Regions from separate parts of the Homo sapiens genome. Here region 1 is linked to region 2. The links are contacts of gene promoters, found by promoter capture Hi-C in blood cells and fetal thymus (Javierre and others, 2016). All regions are on one chromosome and are shown on one strand. The core of a region is centred on a gene start or on the middle of the fragment in contact, and the rest is flanking DNA. Distances in the headings are between cores, read along the strand shown. Region 1 overlaps YWHAH (tyrosine 3-monooxygenase/tryptophan 5-monooxygenase activation protein eta). Region 2 holds the start of EIF4ENIF1 (eukaryotic translation initiation factor 4E nuclear import factor 1).

The links. Contacts are between HindIII fragments. The CHiCAGO score rates a contact against its expected background, and 5 or more counts as called.
Region 1: a fragment that was not itself captured here is called in contact with the fragment with the promoter of EIF4ENIF1 in region 2 in 2 of 17 cell types (total B cells and naive B cells); the score reaches 5.9 in total B cells.

Annotation. Positions count from the first base shown.
Region 1 is chr22:31,945,288-31,951,698 of GRCh38, forward strand. The region is part of intron 1 of YWHAH (tyrosine 3-monooxygenase/tryptophan 5-monooxygenase activation protein eta); the gene reads left to right. LOC124900477 (a long non-coding RNA gene) reads left to right here. Exons shown (of 3, transcript XR_007068065.1): 2 at 213-391; 3 at 2,177-3,865. YWHAH-AS1 (YWHAH antisense RNA 1) reads right to left here and starts at 79. Exons shown (of 3, transcript NR_171018.1): 1 at 1-79. RefSeq lists an enhancer at 169-218. The HindIII fragment of the contact is 578 bases long and covers 1,624-2,201 here.
Region 2 is chr22:31,484,858-31,491,505 of GRCh38, forward strand. It overlaps EIF4ENIF1 (eukaryotic translation initiation factor 4E nuclear import factor 1), which reads right to left and starts at 4,985. Exons shown (of 19, transcript NM_019843.4): 1 at 4,837-4,985; 2 at 3,766-3,888. The coding sequence starts at 3,861. RefSeq lists enhancers at 4,294-4,917, 4,918-5,540, 5,940-5,999 and silencers at 4,370-4,659, 4,740-5,389. The HindIII fragment of the contact is 26,330 bases long and covers 1-6,648 here.

The DNA.
Region 1 (6,411 bases), core at 663-3,162, 460 kb after region 2:
AATTCCGATCTGTTTTGCTCTGCTCGTTCGAATTGTTCTGGTTCCATCTTCCCACGCCTGGGGGTCTGGCTTTGTGTGCGAAGACCCCTTTCCTGCAGTCTAGGCGTGGACGGGGGCGGGAGAGTGGGCGGAGGGTGTGGGGCCCCACTCCACAGCCCCAGGTTTGCTGCTGCGCTGTCTGCTTGGAGATTAAAATGAAACGTGACTTCTAGGTGAGACGAATCTGTGTGTCTTTGCATTCCTGAGACCCTCATAAATCGATTCTGCAGCTTCTCCGGTGGATGAGTCGTGCCCAGCCACACCCTAGCAAAATACCGTGGGTCACACACCACCTGCATTTCTGAGTTCCGGTTACCATCTCACTCTCTCTCCACGTTATTTTACGTTTTCTGTAAATGAATATTTCCTCTCCCTGCGTCAAGGTCACACAGTGGTAGAACAACTGCGACCACCAACCTATGTTCAGTGTACAACCTCCTGAGACCTGGGAGGATCCCCTTGAACTCCGCCTTAGACCTATACATTCAGAAATTCGGGCGGTGAGACTCAGACATCTGCATTGTAACCAGCTCTCACAGGCGATTTTTAGCTGGCTTAAGTCTGAGAATTACTGCCCATGATTATAGTAAATGTATCCTTTGCTGGCCTTTTGGAGGGAGTTCCGAAAAAAAACTGCCAATACAAAGGCTCCCTAAAATCTTAAGTCATTTGGAAAGCTCATTTGAAGGCTTTTGATGTTAATATCAGATGAAATATGTAGTTGGGGCCAATATTTAGGATTGTTCAGGTAAGAAAGGTGCTTGAAGAGTTGCCTTTCCTCTGGTGTCCTTGTTACACACATAACTGGGTGTGTTTGGAAACCAGCAACACCGTTGCCCGTATGTTGATTTGTTGGTGATCTTGACTTGAGCACTATTAGCATGCTGTTGTGGTGAGGCAGGTTTTCTTCCAGACCGGGGGACGGTCTAGGTCTGGAGGCTGAACTTTATGTAATTCAGGGGGTCCTTTAAAAGAAAATCTAAAATATAGTTTTGCATATTTTACAAAAATGGGACTGACGAATGCATTTCCTTGGAAGGGACCCTGAACCTTAATTTTCTGTGGGATAAAGCTGCCTCTGTCCACAGCAGGTCACACTTAAGCCCCTCCTCCCCAGTAACTGAGTGGTGCTGGGATTATGCAGGCTGAGGCCTCTCCACACATTTTCATGAAGTGGTTGCTCACCCTCTAAGTGAGACGTAAAGACTGCAGTGTTCGGAGCCCTTTGGGAAATAAATGTGGTGAAAAGAAAGGAGGGACGAGGTTTAAAGGAAGGGGAAATGGAGGTTAAGGAAAAATGGCTAGAAGGTGTGTTCTGGAACAATCAGAAACCTGAGGCAACTTGAAATGGGGGAAAAAGGCAAGAATGGAGAGATGTTACCAGAACGAAATCTAGTTTGAGCAGAGAAAAAGACTGGCTTTCTAGTAGGCTTGTAAAATGCTTTCCTGCAGCAAGCTACTTGTGTCCATAGATCTTCTCTGGAGGGTTAAGGTAGCCTTTTGTAAACCAAAGGAATCTATAATATCTATATTTGAAATAATTAATGAGTTGGAAAAGCCACCCAGCGTAGAAGAGTCAATCCAAGCTTTAATTCTGCCATCTCAGAATGGTGATAAACCATTTCTCCCCCATCATCTAAATGGAATATATTGTGCTTATAGGTATTTTCTTTAAAAGAAAAAAAAGAATATATTGGAAGGGACTGGCAGGGGTCACTTTCCCTGCTAACTTGGTGTTTGTAGATTAAATTCTTAATGTTACTGGGATGACTCAGTCTCTATGTTATTAATCTCATCAGCCTTAACTAAGGCTTTTGGAAAGGGTGTAAGTTTCAGTAACCCTCTGGGTTTACCTGGGCTTTCTTCAGGGCTGGGGAAGGGCAGGTAAGTAGCCTGCTGTAGGGAGGATGGAGCAGGACACATGTGTTAAGGATATATTCTGATGCCACCAGTCTGTAACCTTGAAACTTACATCTTGGCTTTAGGTCCTCTGAAGTATAAAACTAGTGATGTTGCTGTTATTAACAAGTCAGTTTTGCCTTCAGTCTTCTAACTTGTTTTCTGTTTCCTTCATAATTAAAATGCTCACTTGATAATACTGCCTTCCTGTAATGATTGATGTTCCTCATTCTACCAGCGTCACCTGGAGGACAGTGTTGGTAAGCTTGAAGAAAAATCGTGCATACTGGAAACAATGGTCTTGCCTCAAACCTGTTGAGAACTTCTCTTCCCTGCTTCTCTCCATAATTTGAAGAAGCAAGAAATGTTTCTGAAGTGAAGCATAAAGGAGTATCTTCAAGCTCTATCTCATACCTACCAGCTTGCATAGAGTATAATAGTGGGAAGAAATATTGTGAAAGATTCTAGAACCTAAGTCCTTTCTAGGCTAGGCAATTCTAGGCTACACAATTCGTAGTCTCTGTAAATACCATTTGATAACTGAAATAAACCTATAAAGTGGGATTAAATGTTAGTCCAGAAGACTAAGTGATTTAAGGAAAGAGGGAAAATAACCAGATAGATTTCTGGTGGATATTCATAGACAGACATAATTTCATCATGTATTATGGCCCTAAGTCATCTATTTTATATTAAAACATAGATGGTAACTGTAAAGTTATCAAATGTAAAAATTACTGGGCTAGCATTGTGTTTTAACACTGATACACCAGTTGATTACAGTGTTGACAGAAAACGGGCAGAAACACGTTTAAAGTACCTGCAGAATATATATATAGAAATCTTTTTTTTTTAATCAGTGTTGACCAGGTTGGCCTCGAACGTGTAGCCTCACCTCCCCGAGTGCCAGGGCAACCGGCCTGAGCCACAGCGGCTCCCTAGAAATCTTAAGTGCAGGAAACAAAACTACAGTTTAAGGAAACAGGAGTCGGAGAGGAGGGGCATTTGGCCCAACCACTGGCAAAAGGCTGTTGTTGCAACAACTGTGAGATTCTGGGAAGTGGGGAAATGAGCAGGTGCTGTGTAAAAGTGCACAGCTGACTGCCCCAGGTGAGACAGATCAGTGTCACAGAGAGTAGGAGGATTTTGAGGTGTGATTAGTATTTTTTTTTTTTTTCTTAAAGAGATGGTCTCGTTCTGGAACCCAGGCTGGAGTGCAGTCGTGGCACGATCATAATTCACTGTAGCCTTGAGCTCCTGGGCTCAAGTGAACCTCCTGAGCAGCTGGGACTACAGATGCATGCCACCGTGCCCAGCTAATTATTAAATTGTATAGACAGGATCTCTATATGGTACCCAAGTTGGTCTCAAACTCCTGGCCTCAAGCAGTCCTCCTGCCTCAGCCTATTAAAGTGCTGGGATTACAGGAGTGAGCTACCACACCCAACCAGTAGGAAATCTTAAAGCCACATTGATACTACAGTTTGAAATATGTAAAAACTAGGGAGCTATGTTTCCCACTAACTGGGCATTTAAAATGTAATCGTCTTTGAGGAAGGAAGAAGGCTCTGGATTATTCTTGTAATAGTTTGAATTTAAAAGGTCCTTTCAGGTGGGCAAACAGCTTACGTGGCTTTCTTGCACTGAAATAGAAACTGTAGTCCCCATGTGGGTTTGGGTCCCTGAATTATCCCCAGAAGAACTTCCACAGTCCGGAACTGACTCCCTTAAAGAAACCAAAAATGTATTTTCTTTGGTGGGGATTTTCTTTAGTTGGTCTTTGTCTGGGATTTTATATCAGTGACAGACTGTAGCGTCACACTTTTCCAGAAATACGGTTTCGGAGAGGGTACCCCTAACGTTTTATGTGTGTGTGTGTTACATTTAGCAAGTTTATATAACATATTTTACTTTTTTTTTTTTTTTTTTTTTTGAGACAGTTTCGCTCTTGTTGCCCAGGCTGGAGTACAATGGAGCAATCTCGGCTCTCTGCAACCTCTGCCTCCCGGGTTCAAGCAATTCTCCTGCCTCAGCCTCCCAAGTAGCTGGGATTACAGGCATGCACCACCATGCCATGCCCGCCTAATTTTGTATTTTTAGTAGAGATGGGGTTTCTCCATGTTGGTCAGGCTGGTCTTGAACACCCGACCTCAGGTTATCCACCTGCCTCGGCCTCCCAAAGTACTGGGATTACAGGCGTGAGCCACTGCGCTTGGTTAGAACTTATTTAACTTTTTAGGCACTTGGTAAACGGTAGCTGTTAGTCCATGTGTACTTTTTTTTTTGGTGGGGGGGGGAGTCATGCTCTGTCACCCAGGCTGGAGTGCAGTGGCAGGATCTTGGTTCACTGCAAGCTCCGCCTCCTGGGTTCACGCCATTCTCCTGTGTCAGCCTCCCAAGTAGCTGGGACTACAGGTGCCCGCCACCTTCCATGTGTACATTCTTGTTTAACAATTCAGGATAGGTACTGTTACTCCCCTTTACAAATGAGACTTTCAGAGGTTGATTTTCTCATGGTCAAACAGCTAGTAAGTTGTGAATTCAAGATTCAAACTCAAATTTAGAGCTCTCATTTTAACCACTATGTAACAATGCCCCATGAGGCAAAGGGATAATATGTCTAGTATACATTCTGGTATATTAACCATTGTCAGCACTGGTGACTGAAATCCAAGAACTCTTCATAAGTGGGCTTACTAAACAAATAATTTTATCTGTTGGGTGCAAGTCATTTTTTTTTTCCAAATACGATTAAGAACAATCTGCCATTTATGGGTTTTAGCTACAACAGAGAAACATAAGAGGGAAACTCACATATCTGGATTTTGCTTGTTCTGAAGGCTTGGAGGCCTTTTTTTTTTTTTTTTTTTTTTTTTTTTTTTTTTTTTTGCTTAACAAAGTATTGAATTTGAGTTTCTCCTGAGTTAAGAAGTGCAGGACTATGTTACATTTTATTTGGGGTATTTTAAGAAATTATTTCATATTCTTGGCACCAGTTGTTTCTCCATATTGCCTTTAATGTATTTTTCTCCCTGCACCCTTTAGTATATTTTTATGCAGGCCCCAAAATTTCTGTCTCTAGGTTGCTGGTAAAATTCCTCCTAGTGTCCAAGTGGAGGCAGCTTGTCTTCTGTCCCAGCATTTTGGTGCTCCTCCCGCCCCTACTCCTGGCTGCAGTGGCATTCCCTTCTGCGGTGGTGAGTGTTAGCACTTCCAATGATCCGAACCTGGCACAGCTTCTGAAGCCTTCAATTCGGATGCCTCTAGGGACAGTAGCATGCAGTAATGCCATTCAGATGGTGTTGTATTTAATCCTTGCCAATCCCCATGAAAATGTTCAGTTATGTCAAAAGCAAGGCAAAAACAGTCTCTTGGCTATACAAGGGTAGCTGTTTTATTTGACTAAAATTTAGCTTAGAGTGGATGTTACTTACCCGAACTTGCCTGCTCTGAGCTTGAAGTTTAGCCTATTTGTGGTCTTACAGAATTGCAGCCTCATCCTGGTGAGGATAAGGGGCTCAGCCTGACCCTGGCTGGTGATGTTCTTGCCCAGTGGCCTGTAGGACTTGGTCTGTTGGTGGATATCTTTCCAGCTTGGGGCAGGCCAGGCAAGATCCTCACTTCCTAAGCATTAACTTGGGAAAGAGCTCAGCAAGCTTTCATCCCTCTAGCTCATTTTTTGTTTTTTTGAGACAGAGTCTTGCTCTGTCGCCCAAGCTGGAGTGCAGTGGCACAGTCCTGGCTCACTGCAACTTCCACCTCCTGGGTTCGAGCGATTGTCATGTCCCACCCAAGTAGCTGGGATTACAGGTGCACGCCACCATGCCCAGCTAATTTTTGTATTTTTAGTAGAGATGGGGTTTCTCTATATTGACTGGGTTGGTGTCGTACTCCCTGGCCTCAAGTGATCCGCCTGCCTTGGCCTCCCAAAGTGCTGGGATTACAGGTGTGAGCCATCACACCTGGCCCCTCAAACCCTCAAACTGACTTTTCTCACACAGACACACACACATACACGTACACACACACTTCTGCCAAAGAAGCTTAAAGGTTTTATGATGTGGTTATGTTTACTTAATCATGAGAATCATTTACTCATATCAAAAGCAAGCTGGTTGATAGCATGTAGGTGTGGGTAGCTATAAAGGATGAGCCCATAGCATGTGTGGAGCTGTGAAGGATGGCAGCATATTCGAGTGAGGTAGCATTACCCCTAACTTAGGCAGCTATGGCCTGGCAGCTCGGGGGTGGCATTTTTGTTTGCTCAGTGTTACTTTTGATGTTGGATGTTTCCCAGATTGAGAACTTTAAATTTTCCTAAATAGTCCCTGTACTGTTTTTGGCAGTGGATCTATTTTTACTCACACACATAGTTTTTTGCCTTGTGAGTAGTGGGTGGAGGCCCTTAGGGGTTTTTGGGTAAATGAATAGTGTCATAGGAAGATAAGTGAATGATCAGCAGGCCAGGTCATT
Region 2 (6,648 bases), core at 3,735-6,234:
CTCTACTGCTTCTAGATCTTCTAGCCCGTGAACTTGAAGTGGCAGAAACATCATTAAAGTCTATTTATTCCAGTACTTTGATCTCAGTACATAGACAAGGAAGAAGGATGGTTTGAATATTATTCCAGTTGTGGAACTAACATATTTATTATAGTGCTAGGAACACATAATCATTTCAAGCTCTCTTTAAAGGGAGAAGACTTCTTTATCCCCAAGTCCCGCATAGAATTACTAGAGTGTTGAAAACCATGAAAGCACTACCCTAACACTGCCTAAACACTATCCTAAAATTGTCATTAACTAAATCCTCTTAAGAGTAGAAAGTAAACCTATTTCCAATTAATTTGGTAGAAAAGACTTAAATCTAAGCTCCACTGTCATTAAGCTAAAAAATGCTTTTAACCAGTTCTTCAAGGCACATTTATCTACGTATGACAGAATTCTGAGGCTGGACTGTCAAAAATGGACAATACTGAGGTTCTTAATCTTTACTGCAAAGAAACATAAGTCCTACCCTAAGAAAGAGAAATATCTCCCTAAAAATGATGTAAGCATAAAGATAGAAACATACACAAAGATGAAATATACATGTTAACCTCTGATCGGTGTGTGAAAGTGATTCAAAAGCCTCTCTGCCTGGACTCTACCAGTAGACTACTGGTTAGAACTTTAGTGAAAAAAATACTGGAAAGGGTGGGTGTGGTGGCTCACACCTATAATCCCAGCACTTTGGAAGGCTGAGGTGGGTGGATCACCTGAGGTCAGGAGTTCAAGACAGGACTGACCAACATACAAAATTAGCCAGGCATGGTGGTGCATGCCTGTAATCCCACCTACTCAGGAGGCTGAGGCAGGAGAATTGCTTGAACCCGGGAAGCGGAGGTTGCAGTGAGCCAAGATCGTGCCATTGCACTCCAGCCTGAGCAGCAGGAGTGAAACTCCATCTCAAAAAAATAAAAATAAAAGTACTGGAAGGGGCCAGGCTCGGTGGCTCACACCTATAATCCCAGCACTTTGGGAGGCCTAGGTGGGTGGATCACCTGAGCTCAGGAGTTCAACACCAGCAACACAGTGAAACCGTCTCTACTAAAAATACAAAAAAAAATAGGCCAGGTGCAGTGGCTCACACCTATAATTCCAGCATTTTGGGGGGCCGAGGCGGGTGGATCACCTGAGGTCAGGAGTTCGAGACCAGCGAGGTCAGGAGTTTGAGACCAGCCTGGCCAACATGGCAAAACCCTGTCTCTACTAAAAATACAAAAATGAGCTGGGCGTGGTGGCACATGCCTGTAATCCCAGCTACTTGGGAGGCTGAGGCAGCAGAATCACTTGAACCCCGGAGGCGGAGACTGCAGTGAGCCGAGATAGCATCATTGCACTCCAGCCTCGGCGACAAGAGCGAAACTCCGTCTCAAAAAAAAAAAAATAAAAATAAAAATAAAAATACAAAAACAAAATTAGCTGGGTGTGGCAGCGTGCACCTGTAGTCCCAGCTACTTGGGAGGCTGAGGCAGGAGAATCGCTTGAACCAGGGAGGCAGAGGTTGCAGTGAGCCGAGATTGCACCACTACACTCCAGCCTGGGCGACACAGTGAGACTCCGGCTCAAAAAAAATAATAAACAAAAAGTACTGGAAGGGGGCCAGGTGCAGTGGCTCACACGTGTAATCCCAGCACTTTGGGAGGCTGAGGCAGGTGAATCACTTGAGTTCAGGATTTCAAGACCAGCCTGGCCAACATGGCAAGATCCCGTCTCCACTAAAACTACAAAAATTAGCTGGGCATGGTGGCGCACGCCTGTAGTCCCAGCTACTTGGGAGGCTGATGCAGGATAATCACTTGAACCCAGGAGGCAGAGGCTAGTGAATCAAGATCGCACCATTGCACTCTGGTGATAGAGCGAGACTCCGTCTCAAAGAAACAAAAAAATAAGTACTGGAACGGCTGGGCGCAGTGGCTCACGCCTGTGATCCCAGCACTTTGGGAGGCCAAGGCGGGCAGATCACCTGAGGTTGGGAGTTCGAGACTAGCCTGACCAACATGGAGAAACCCCGTCTCTACTATAAAAAAAAAAAAAAAATCAGCTGGGCATGTTGACGCGTGCCTGTAATCCCAGCTACTCAGGAGGCTGAGGCAGGAGAATCACTTGAACTTAGGAGGCAGAGGTGGTGCCATTGCACTCCAGCCTGGGCAACAAGAGTAAAACTCCATCTCAAAAAAAAAAAAGTACTGGAAGATTTTCTTTTCCCTTCATTTGATGGCTTTTCTCCATTCAGAATTCACCTGTCAGCATTTTAGGAAATGAATTTAAGTTGTGAAACACTACTCAAACACTCTCAGGTTTGAGAGAAAATATATTTGGGAAGACCAAATCTGAATGTGGAAAAAGTTTTCTATCAACTTACATGCTGTCATACCAAAACAGATCATCCTAAGAGAGCAATCAACCAAGAACACTTTACACCTGAAAACATTTCTCTTACTGCAGTTCAGTTTCCTTCAGTGCTGAAAATGAGTATTAATCTGACAGTATTTGATACTTTATCAAGTAGGTAAGAGTAGTGCACCAGAACACAAACAAGAGCTGGCTTTAAAGCATTAACCAATCAGTATCCCAGGAAGCCAGGGACAATAAGCCATGTCAGAGTCAATGACTGAGGCCTGGCACAGTGGCTCACCCCTGTAATCCCAACACTTTGGGAGGCCAAGGTGGGCGGATTGCTTAAGCCCAGGAGTTTGCCTGGGCAACATGGCGAATTCCCATCTCTATAAAAAATACAAAAATTAGCCGAGCGTACTGGTGCACGCCTGTGGTCCCAGCTACTCAGGAGACTGAGATGGGAGGATGGCTTGAGCCCGGGAGGTCCAGGCTGCAGTGAGCCATGATTGCACCACTGCATTCCAGCCTCGGCGACAAAGTGACGCCCTGTCGGGTGCAAAAAAAAAAAAAAAAAAAAGAAAAATCCATACTAAGGAAATATATGGATGTGTGCCCAACTAGGATATAACCCTTCTTGTCATCAGTGGTCCCAACTGCTTCAACACTGTTGAGCAAGTTTTATGGGATCCAGCCTGACACATTTCAGGGACCCAGAAATGAATTTACAATTTGAGTCCTGTCAACCTCTTCAAAAACATTCAGTAGCCAACAAGACATGTACTGATGCAAGATCTTTAATAAATATGACTTCCTCTCTCTCCCAAAAGCAGTTATCTGGACAAGCAGTTTAAGCATCTCCAGTTTTTAGCTAGGGGAAATATGACTGAAGCCTTACTTTTTTGAGTCCATATCCAATTTGTAATAGAAAATAAAAAAACAGGATTGAAAAGCCAGTTACCCATGAAAAGCACACTCAAGAGCATTCCTATGGGGAGTCTGCCTCTTAAGGAAACATCAATACAGAGGACACTAACTTTGTAACGCATCCTAGGGCTTTAATCCTCACAGTACAGTATGTAAATCAATAAACGTACCAATTACATAGCTGTTACAGAACTTACAAAGTATACTGATCCGCAATTTTAAAAAAATCTAAGCCTACATTCCCTTCACCTAAAAGCCTCTCAAAGCAAATTCCAGCTTAAACGCTGGGTATCTACACTTGCAGAAAAATGTTCAAAGTAATGCACTACTAAATTTAGTTAATATTTAGTCCATGTAGTGAGTCAGAATGAGATTACCACTTAATAGGAATGAAATAGTTATACAATGTTACTAACTTCGCCACCTAAAAAGAAACACTATTTCATTAGTGGCAAACCTTACTTTTGTATAGCGATGGGGGCATTTGGAGGCAGGAGGCTTCTTCAGGTCAAGGAAAGCATCTCCACTTTCTGTTTCACCCATACTTCTCCTATCCATGGCTCCTTGGTCTACAATGCTCTGCACCTGGAAGATAAATCGGCACAAAATTGTCACCGAGAACAGTAAGTTTTCAGAAATCTTGGCTGTTTCTTCAGAAGCTGAAACTTTTTAATCTCTCAAAACAGCTAGTGTTAAAAACAAGTCCCCACCCCAAAATTATGCTATAAATTAGAACTTGGAGATAGAATCATTGGTACTCAGTTCTCTTTCCTAGTATCCTAAGCATCAACATGGTAAAAAGTAGAAGGTGCCCAATTCAAGGTATATAACCTTTAAGCAGCTTTAACACAAGAGAAACCAAGATTAGTAGCTGCCACCCATGGGGATCTTTCAAGACTGGTGGGGAAGTTTCCCGGAGTGGGGGCAGGTAGAAGACTGGTTAGGCTGGGAACCCGCGAAGTCTGTTGGAAAGTGCCTGTCACTTGCCAATGGACGGCGCCAGCTGCCCCTTGTTATCCGGCGATCAGGGACTGGGGACGGGGCCCGAGCGCCCCTCGCCAGGCCAGCCGCACCTGTGGCCATGTCAGGGGCGCCGATGGCAAGGAAAGGGCGAGCACCGGCTTCAGCTCCGAAACTTGGCTTCCCCGGGCCGCGACCCCAACCCGCAGCCCCTCACGCAGGCCCGGGCCCAGCGGCCTCCTTCGGAGGAAGGGCGGAGACCGTACTCACTGAGGGGCGGCCGGCCGCAGGGAGGAGGGAGGCCGAATCTCCCGGCCCGGGCGCTTCAAGCTGGAGCTAGCGCAGGCCCGCAGCCGTCCTCCCCGGCCCGGCGGCTCGGTCCCCGCCAGCCAGCCCGCCGGCTACCCGCCGGCCGCCTTGCGGGCCTCGCGCCCCTGCCCACCCCCTGCGGGCGCCCCGGCGCCCGCGCTCACGCACGCGACCCCGGGAGCAATGCGCCCGCGCCCCTTCTACACCCGGGAGCACCGGGCGCGCGGTGCCCCGGACCCAGCCGCCACCGCCGCCGACCCTTACTCGGTGCCTCCGCCGCTCGGCGGCCCTTTGCCTCGGCCGCCGCTCCCCTCCCCGCTGCCCGCACCGGTCCCAGCGCCGCTCCCCGCAGCCTTCGCTCTCGCGCCCCCACCCCGACCGGCTTGGGCTGTCTCTCTTCAGCCGCCGTAACTGCAGCCCGGCCCTCCGCCCCTCCTCTTCGGCCCCCTCCCCCTTAATAACTCCCTCCACGCACCCTGGCCCCGGCGCCGCCTTCCCCGCCGCGCGCCCGGATGTGAGGTGGCTGCAGCGGTGCCGGGCGAAAAAGAAGCATCGCCGCGCGCTTCCCGGACGCCAGCCCCTGCGCGGGCCGGGGGGTGGGAAGGTGGTGGCGGCGAGGAGGAGGCCACGGTGGGGATAGCGGAAACCCGCTCCCGTGCGCGCAGGCGGTCGCCGTGGGCAGCCCAGAGGCCACCGCCGCCGCGTTCCCACGCGCGCTGCAGGGCAGAGCGGACGGCACTTGGGACCCGCGACTCGCGGCACGCCACTCTCCCGGAGGCGGTGGCTAGATGGGGCTGGGCTGGCGGCTAGCACGGCCTGTGGCGCGACGACCGCTGTATTTGCATGGTTCGCATAGGCAGAGAACCGTGGGGCTTCGGCAGTGGGAATTTGAGATAGGAGATTGGGGTCTTCCGAGCCTTCCCAGTGCGGGTTCGAACCTCAGCTGTTTTGCGAGTGGCGTGATCTTAGGCAAAGCTGACTTAACCTAAGTTTCGGTCGTGTTTCTAAAATGGCCTCTGTAAATCTATGAGGCTTATGCGCGAGTACTGGTTGCTGCATTAAAAGACAAACTTGTCACGATTGGCTTTGATAGCGATAAAGGCGACTAACAAATTCATTGAAATGTTGTTTCCCTCCGGTAACCTGAATCTGTCCTTAGCCTGCACAGAAAGGGGAAGTGCGAGTGGAGTTGGGGAAATGAGACGGCGAATGTCAAGTGCTTACCACGTAGTGCAGACTCAGGCTGACAGGGGGCCACAGAAATGCAAATATGTGAGCAGTGTGGGTAACTGCATCCTGGGGAGGAAGTCCTATGTGCTGGAATACCACAAGCACCCATTTCTGCCCTGTGGTACTGCGCAGCGTTGGTGTGAAGCGATACATAGGCGTGAAGTCCCGAGAACGCAATTTTCCTGGTTAAAGGACAGCAACGTCTACATTTCTTCCAAGAGGCCTACTTTGTTGGAACTTCACTTCACTTGTGAAATTAGGGTGTTGGGCAGTGAGTGACCACTAACTCAGCTCCCTTCTTGTGAATCTTGGCAACAGAAAACTTTTCGTTTGTATTACTGAATAAAGTGTGTTTCTTACAAACTGTTTTTTTACAGGCAAGAGGCAGAGGGAAACACTTGCACATCAGGCCTGAGTTTGCATTCTCATCTCTGCCACCTCCTACAAGCTATGGAGAGTTAGTCTATTGATTCTTAGTTTTACCTGTGAAATTGCGAAGATGATATAACCTGCTCATGGGGCAGTTAAGATTAAACAGGATAAGGTGGGTAAAAAACCATATATAACCCATAAAGCTGCTGAGCCTTTTTAAGCCTATACAGAGACACGTTGCAGGTGATAATACAGATGTTATTATTTTAACAATCAAGCTGTTTTTGGAATCCAAATTCTTCCTAAAGCTGTGGGAAACAGGTCTAATCCCCTTTAGTGTCTTGGAGACTCCCTGGAGTAGTGGAGAAGGCCCGTTCTTTGAAGCTGCTAAATCCTGACCCTGCCAATTAGTGTGAAACCTGAGCCAGGCATTTCACCACCTGGATCTCCCTTTCCTCATTTTTCCGAAAGGGA